Regions from separate parts of the Homo sapiens genome. Here regions 1 and 2 are each linked to region 3. Evidence: promoter capture Hi-C in 16 types of primary human blood cells and fetal thymus (Javierre and others, 2016). All regions are on one chromosome and are shown on one strand. Each heading gives the region's core, a stretch centred on a gene start or on the middle of the fragment in contact. The rest is flanking DNA. Distances are from core to core; before and after follow the strand shown. Region 1 overlaps CRTC3 (CREB regulated transcription coactivator 3). Region 2 has its middle 17 kb from the start of CRTC3. Region 3 holds the start of MAN2A2 (mannosidase alpha class 2A member 2).

The links. Contacts are between HindIII fragments. The CHiCAGO score rates a contact against its expected background, and 5 or more counts as called.
Region 1: a contact is called between a fragment that was not itself captured here and the fragment with the promoter of MAN2A2 in region 3, in 6 of 17 cell types (M0 macrophages, M1 macrophages, erythroblasts and 3 more). The highest score is 8.8, in M0 macrophages.
Region 2: a contact is called between a fragment that was not itself captured here and the fragment with the promoter of MAN2A2 in region 3, in 4 of 17 cell types (naive B cells, erythroblasts, activated CD4 T cells and 1 more). The highest score is 6.7, in naive B cells.

Annotation. Positions count from the first base shown.
Region 1 is chr15:90,633,832-90,636,531 of GRCh38, reverse strand. The region is part of intron 11 of CRTC3 (CREB regulated transcription coactivator 3); the gene reads right to left. All of the region lies in intron 3 of CRTC3-AS1 (CRTC3 antisense RNA 1), which reads left to right. It also overlaps the pseudogene HSPE1P3. Among named protein-coding and RNA genes, the nearest start is that of LINC01585, 25 kb to the left of the region's middle. The HindIII fragment of the contact is 9,830 bases long and covers 1-2,700 here.
Region 2 is chr15:90,511,913-90,514,612 of GRCh38, reverse strand. No RefSeq gene overlaps it. Among named protein-coding and RNA genes, the nearest start is that of CRTC3, 17 kb to the left of the region's middle. RefSeq lists silencers at 890-1,090, 2,110-2,310. The HindIII fragment of the contact is 1,549 bases long and covers 569-2,117 here.
Region 3 is chr15:90,902,007-90,904,723 of GRCh38, reverse strand. It overlaps MAN2A2 (mannosidase alpha class 2A member 2), which reads right to left and starts at 1,422. Exons shown (of 23, transcript NM_006122.4): 1 at 1,292-1,422; 2 at 385-534. The coding sequence starts at 516. RefSeq lists enhancers at 432-491, 2,332-2,381 and silencers at 1,442-1,871, 1,892-2,161. The HindIII fragment of the contact is 23,300 bases long and covers 1-2,717 here.

The DNA of each region.
Region 1 (2,700 bases), core at 79-2,578, 270 kb after region 3:
CATTGCTTTTGGTGTTTTAGACATGAAGTCCTTGCCCATGCCTATGTCCTGAATGGTATTGCCTAGGTTTTCTTCTAGGGTTTTTATGGTTTTAGGTCTAACATTTAAGTCTTTAATCCATCTTGAATTAATTTTTGTATAAGGTGTAAGGAAGGGATCCAGTTTCAGCTTTCTACGTATGGCTAGCCAGTTTTCCCAGCACCATTTATTAAATAGGGAATCCTTTCCCCATTTCTTGTTTTTGTCAGGTTTGTCAAAGATCAGATGGTTGTAGATATGTGGCATTATATCTGAGGGCTCTGTTCTGTTCCATTGGTCTATATCTCTGTTTTGGTACCAGTACCATGCTGTTTTGGTTACTGTAGCCTTGTAGTATAGTTTGAAGTCAGGTAGCATGATGCCTCCAGCTTTGTTCTTTTGGCTTAGGATTGACTTGGCAATGTGGGCTCTTTTTCGGTTCCATATGAACTTTAAAGTAGTTTTTTCCAATTCTGTGAAGAAAGTCATTGGTAGCTTGATGGGGATGGCATTGAATCTATAAATTACCTTGGGCAGTATGGCCATTTTCACAATATTGATTCTTCCTACCCATGAGCATGGAATGTTCTTCCATTTGTTTGTATCCTCTTTTATTTCATTGAGCAGTGGTTTGTAGTTCTCCTTGAAGAGGTCCTTCACATCCCTTATAAGTTGGATTCCTAGGTATTTTATTCTTTAGAAGAAATTTCACGATCGAATCTTAAGATCTCCACCTTTCTTTCCCAACCCGGCTCACAGGATGCCGGAATCCTGATATGCCGAGGTGCGACATTGGAAGAGTGTCCTTTAGGGAACCTGACAAGGCCTGAAGAGAGAAAATCTTTTTTTCTGGAGACAGAGTTTTTCTGGAGACAGAGTCTTGCTCTGTCACCCAAGCTGGAGTGCAGTGGCATGACCTTGGCTCACTGCAACCTCCACCTCCTGGGTTCAAGCAATTCTCCTGCCTCAGTCTCCCGAGTAGCTGAGATTACAGGAGCATGCTAACACGCCTGGCTAATTTTTGTATTTTTAGTAGAGACGGGGTTTCACCATGTTGGCCAGGCTGGTCTCGAACTCCTGACCTCAGGTGATCCACCCGCCTCGGCCTCCCAAAGTGCTGAGATTACAGGTGTGAGCCACCACGCCTGGCCAGAGAAGAATGTAAAACTTATGACACCAGGAGTTTCCCAAGGAAATGACCAAGCTAGATCATTCTACAATGAAGACCACACTCAGCAGGCCTGCCCACATACACAGAGCTGCCAGCCAGCTTCTCAGTGTCCTTTTTTTTTTCTCATTTACATATTTTTATTTGGAAATGTTTATATCAGTACAAGGAAACAATTTTGGAGACACTGGATGTCATTAGTTATCATTAGTTTATTATAAGAAATATGGAAATTATTTACATGATGAAAGATTTCAGAACTTCAGTGGAATGGGCAGCTTCACACTGATGCCATTTCAGTAGTGACTTATTTCAGTCTATGTACTTTCCAAGAATGTCACCATCTCTAAATAGGAAATAATCCTTGTCATCTAGAACTACTTTGGTGCCTCCATATTCTGGGAGAAGAACTTTATCTCCAACTTTCACGCTAACTGGTTGAATCTCTCCAGCCTTACCTTTAGAACCCGATCCAACAGTGACTACTGTTGCTTGCAATACTTTTCCTTGAGATTTTTCTGGAAGCAAAATGCCTCCTTTGGTTACAGTTTTAGCAGCGCTCCTTCCAACCAATACTCAGTCAGAGAGTGGAAAAAACTTTCTACACGCTTGTCCTGCCATGACTCCCTTCGCCTCAGTCTCATACTCCGCTCTAGTGTAGAGCCGCAAGGAGACAGCCCCTCAGTGTCCTGTTCTTAAACATGAGCAGAGCACTGAGGATCACCAGGCCCTGAGGAAACCATCTGCCGTGAAAGTCAGAGGCCAGAGCAGACACACACAATCTTGGAAAGATGTGTGCAGGAAGAAGTAGTTGTGAAAAACCAAAATCAGCATGACAATATTTAGGCTACTAAGAAAATCCTTATCTATTAGAGATACATATTAAAATATCTGCAATTTTTAAAAGCAGGGTATGGATGAAACAAGATAACAAGGCTGGCGTGCTGGCTCACGCCTGTAATCTCAGACTTTGGGAGGCTGAGGTGGGTGGATCACCTGAGGTCAGGAGTTTGAAACCAGCCTGGCCAACATGGTGAAATCCCGTCTCTACTAAAAATTACAAAAATTAGCCAGGTGTGGTGGTGTGCACCTGTAGTCCCAGCTATTCGGGAGGCTGAGGCCAGGAGAATGGTTTGAACCTGGATGGCGGAGGTTACAATGAGCCGAGATCACACCACTGCACTCCAGCCTGGGCAACAGAGCAAGACCCTGTCTCAAAAAAAAAAAATTAATTGTTGAGGGTAAATGATGGGTATAGGAGGACTTATTGTATTATGTTCTCTACTTTTATGCAATTTAGGAAAATTCTATTATAGAAAATAAAGATAAATTCGAAAAAAAAAGACCACTAAAAACCTGAGAGATAAAAGATGATATTGCATCTGTGGAATAAGTATGATGCTATTAAAAAAGAACACTCAGAGAACAAAAAAGAACTCATAGCAATTTAAAAATGAGAGCAGAAATGGAAAACTCAACAGAAGTGTTGGAAGATAAAGCTGAGACAATCTTCC
Region 2 (2,700 bases), core at 94-2,593, 390 kb after region 3:
CTGGGAATATAGGTGCGTGTCATCACGCCTGGCCAATTTTTTTGTATTTTTAGTAGAGACAGGGTTTCACCGTCTTGGCCAGGCTGGTCTTGAACTCCTGACCTCGTGACCCACCTACCTCGGCCTCTCAAAGTGCTAGGATTAGAGGTGTGAGCCCCCACACCCGGCCCACTATAAAATTTCTATTATTTCTTTTTGTAATCAGTAAGTATCTCGAAGGGGGATAATCTGAGATGATATAAACATCCTGTTATTCGGGCTGAGGCAGGAGGATTGTTTGAGCTCAGCAGTTCAAGACCAGGCTGGGCAAGATGGCAAAACCCCATCTCTACAAAAAATACAAAAATTAGCCAGGCACGGTGGCGTGTGCCTGTGGTCCCAGCTACTGAAGAGGCTGAGGTGGGAGGATTGCTTGAGCCTGGGAGGTGGAGGTTATAGTGAGGTGAGATCACACCACTGCACTCCAGCCTGGGTGACAGAGCTAGATCCTGTCTCAAAAATAAATAAATAAATAAATAAATAAATAAATAAATAAATAAAATTTAAAAATCCTGTTATTCCACAAGCTTGTACCCACTAGTTTTAGTATGCATTGATAATTATTGCCCCTTTCCCATTTATTTGTTTATATCAGAATGGACTCATGAATTCTAATTTTAATGGGTTATAATTCATTACTGGTTGGGGTTCAGTCAGGCTGGTGGGAAAAATTTTAGTTATAATAGCCACAAACCCTCTTGGAAGGCCTGAGAGTTTGCATAATTGTGGTAATAGATCTGGCTGAAGGCAGCCTAGTCCCTTTACCTTTAAATAGATTAAAGTAGATACAAAGAAATGTGGGGGAGTTTATCTAAACTAGCTTGTTTACTCATGTGGTCCTAAGACTAACCTTTGATCTACTGTGGGTGCTTAATTGCTTTCTACTCAGGAGGTTGGCAATGTCAATTACCCTCTAGCTGTGTTGACTCAAGCCTTTGTCAATTAATCTTTACTGAACAAATGTGAGTCTCCCTGGATGGTGGAGGCCACGGCTGCTACTCTTTATAGCACTCTTCTTGGAGTCTGTAAGTGGCCCAGATGCTCAGCTGGACTGGCAAAGCAGAATATCTGTGTCAGTGTACTTTATTCATCTGTTGTTGGGTCTGCGGGACAGACCCCTGCAACTACTGTTATTATTTTAGTACTTAAAATTATCCCAGATTTACTGTCTGCATCCTTTTACCATGTTTCCATTTTTTTTAGTATTTCTTCCTGTCTAGGCACCCAATATTTTAGGCTCATGTTGTACTTTGTCTGCTTGGCCCCAGAATCAGCCATTTCTCCATGGAGCCCTGGTTCCTTTTAGTGGAGAAGGGTGTTTGGACACTGGTTCTCCTTTTTTTCTGGGAGCTAGTTCTGAGTTAGCTTTTTTTTTTTGCTTTGCTTTTTTTTTTTTCTGAGGCGGAGTCTCACTGTCACCCAGGCTGGAGTGCAGTGGCTTGGTCTCGGCTCACTGCAATCTCTCCCTCCCAGGTTCAAGTGATTCTCCTGCCTCAGCCTACGGAGTAGCTAGAACTACAGGCATGCACTGCCACACCAAGCTAAGTTTTTGTATTTTTAGTACAGACAGGGTTTCATTATGTTGGCCAGGCTGGTCTCAAACCCCTGACCTCAGGTGATCCACCTGCCTTGACGTCCCAAAGTGCTGGGATTACAGGTGTGAGCCACCGTGCCTGGCCTCTGAGTTAGCATTAAACAGGAGGAGTTTGACTTTAATTCTCATCACATCATTTTTTCTGTCATGTGCCTTTTCAGCTCCCACCATAAAGGTCTCTGTACCTCCGTCCCCATAGGCATTGGGAATATTTTTCTCCAGAAACAAAAGCCAGTGGCTATGAGCAACTATCATAAGTTTATCAAGTGCACATTCTTATACATCACATCAAAATTATTTTCTAGACAAGTGGGGACAAAATTTACACAGAACAAGTATCTGCAATTTAAGAACAAAAGTTTTAAACAAACTTACCAAAATAGAAATGTAGAATGGAGTCCAAAATTCTTTGACAAATGTGGCATACAAATGCACATTTTTGCTTTTCTGTTTCCTAGGTAATATTTACCATTTGTTGAAAGCTTAAAGTCGGGTTCTGTTCTAGCTTCCTCTTTTCTCCAGGATTTCGAAGAATGTGTTCCATGGAACATGAGTTTCACTGATGGCTAATAGGAGCTTTCTAAAGGGTAAGAGGGAGGGGATTGTGTGGTCAGATACATTTGGGGAAAGCTATGCTACACAAAGCTAAGCAAGTTTCTTGACTGTAGAACTTCTCAGAGCTTTTTTTTTTTTTTTTTTTTGGACAGAGTCTCACTCTGTCGCCCAGGCTGGAGTGCAATGGCACGATCTTGGCTCACTGCAACATCTGCCTCCTGAGTTCAAGAGATTCTCCTACCTCAGCCTCCTGAGTAGCTTAGACTACAGGCACGTGCTACCATGCCCAGCTAATTTTTTGTATTTTTAGTAGAGCCAAGGTCTCACCATGTTGGCCAAGCTGTTCTCAAACTCTTGACCTCAGGTGATCCACTTGCCTCAGCCTCCCAAAGTGTTGGAATTACAGGCGTGAGCCACCATACCCAGCCCTAAGGGCTTTTACATATGTGTTGTGACTTCCAAATATGACAGAATACAACATTTCCCAAACTTCCTTGATCACAGAATACTTC
Region 3 (2,717 bases), core at 173-2,672:
CAGCTACTTGGGAGGCTGAGGCAGGAGAATTGCTTGAACCTGGGAGGCGGAGGTTGCAGTGAGCCAAGATCGCGCCACTGCACTCAAGGCTGGGCGACAGAGCGAGACTCTGTCTCAAAAAAAAAAAAAAGAAAGAAAAGAATTCAGGAGAACAGAGTGACAATACTCATTGCCATTGACATTTTTTCTTCCTTCCTTCTTTTCGCCATCACTGTTTTTAGCTGAGGGTTTCTACAAAACCTGACTATTGGGAAGGAAGGCTCCTGTCCTGTACTGACATTACCCTCCAGCGGGGGGTGGGAGGGGAGGCGGCGGGGTGGGAGGTGCATACCCTGAGCCCAGGTGACTTGTATACAAAGAAATTAGCAACCAGGCACGACTCACCCGGGGGAAGTTCCCACCATTCTGGTGTCGGGTGGGATCGTGTTGCACTCGGTCCAGCATGAGGTAGAGCGAGAAGACTGCCACACAGAAGATGGCAGCCCCACACACTGTCACCTGCTTTTTCAGCTTCATACTGGCCTCCACACACACCTGGCAGGAAGGACACCATCTGTAGCTCCAACATGCAAAATGCCCGTGGCAGTCTTTCCACCAAATACCCCAGTGAGTTCCTGAGGGCTGTTCCAAAGGAACACCCATTTGCCTGGCTCCAAGTAGCACAAGCAGCACATCTGAGGCTGGCCCACCTGGTCCTGGTAGCAGCTCTGCCGCTAGGGTGGAGAGGACGCTCTCCTTTGGCTGGTGCTATGAAAAACGGGCCCAGGATAAGAGTCCCAGCTCCGACTGGAGCGCACCACACAAGCTCCTGATTACACAGCTTCCCTGCCTAGATAGGAGGTGCCTGTTCAGGCTCCTCGGCCATGTGCTTCTAGTTTCAGGTGAATAAGCTAGTCTCTATTTTGTTTGATTTAAAAGTTTAGCCAGAACCCAAAGAGACTGATAGGAAAGCCTTTCTCAGTGCCCTTTCGGGTCAAACTGGCACTCACCAGAAACAGTGCCTGGCACGATCCTTTCTCAGAAACACAGAATGAGTTTCTTTCTAATAAAGAAGAAAGATGCTTGTGTTTCTAGCATAAAGCAAGCCCTGTGTGTTCTCCCTGTTTCTCTACTGTTCACTGCAGTGGGAAACTTCCAGCCGCGGTTTGCAGAGCACTTAGGGGACCCCTAGGAAGCCTGCAGTGACGCCGAAGGCCCCCTGGGAAGGGAGAGACGGGGCCCAGTGCTCAGCTGCGAGGCAACTTCAGGGGACCCGTGCCCCCCGCCGCCACCGCCCTCGGGCTCCGCTTGCCTGCTCAGGAGGAAGGAGGACGCTAACTGCGGAGCCGAGCGTGGGCGGGACCGCGCTCCGGAGTCTGCTCCGCGGGCCCTGGGGCCGAGGAGCTTTGTCGCCTCTGCGTTGTGCCCTACTTAGCGCGATCTGATTCTGCTCGGGAGCTTCCGGGCAATATTTTCAGCCCTTAGAGACTGGGTCTAGGCCAATGTGGGTGGAGCTGGGGAGAGAGTTGGATCACAGAGGGCAGGCACCTGCCGCCAGGTCTCTGGCCGCCCGCCCGGCTCCCTCCCCACCCGCTCCGACTTCGTCGGCCCCGGGGACCGCAGAGACAGGCGCCAGGTACGGGCCTCAGGCAGCCTCCTGTCCCTTCCTGGCCCCTCTGACGCCGCAGTGGCGCTCGCACTCCCGCCGCCCGAGCCCGGCCTCTGTCGGGGCAGCCGGAGCCCTCCCGCGCGCGCACCCGGCCCGTTACCGTCAGCGCCCGGCCTCCGCGCCGCTCCGGGCCCAGTCGGCCGAGCTGCCGGCTCTCACACGCCCGGGGACGGCGGCCCGCGTGCAGGCAGCGACGCAGGCGAAGGCGGGCGCCCGCCCACCCGTAGCCCCCTGCTCCGCGCGCCGCTGCCGCGCTCCCGCTGGGCCCCGGGCCGCCGGCGCGCTCCGCTGCGCCGGCCCCGCGCGGGTCCGCCAGCCTCTGAAGCTGCCGGGCCCAGCAGCGTGCGGGGCGGGGACAGCCGCGCCGCCCGCCCCGGCCTGCGTGTGCCCGGCGGAGCTGACAGGAGCTCTGGCCGCCGCGGTCCCCGCCCGGCTCCTCCCGGGCCCGCTCCGCTGGGCTGCAGTGCGCAGCCGCACCAGCCCGGGCCGGGCCTGGCCAGCTGCGGAACCTCAGGAGGGACGCGCGACTGAATTTTTTCGGAATCCTACTTGAGTAAGCGCATGATCGGGCAGTGGTCGAAACGCCCGCCTCCGTCTCGGCAGACGCGTAGCGGGGTGCGTTCTCCGCGGCCTCACCCGGCTCCGGCCCAGGTAGCCTTAGGTCTCTGTCGTTGCGCCCCTCGGGCAAAGGGGTGCTGCCTCCTGTCGGTACAGCGCATTCCTCGAGTCCCTTTCCTTTCCGTGCCTGCTCTATGTTTCCTGCCAGCGAGTGAACAAGACACAGACTTTTCTTGGCTGTTTCCCTTTTACTGGGCATCTAGGTTGTTTACAGTTTTTCAGTGTAATCCATACTGCAATGAACATCTCCATGAATTCCACATTTTTGTTCTTTTTAAGTTATATATAACATTATCTGAATGTGACCCCCCAAATTCATGTTCAAATCCTAATCCCTCAAGGTGATGATGGTATTAGGAGATGGGCCTTTGGGGGTGAACAGAGTTTGAAGGGAGAGCTCTCATGAATGGGATTAGTGCCGGTATCAAATGACCCCGAGAGTCGGCCCCTT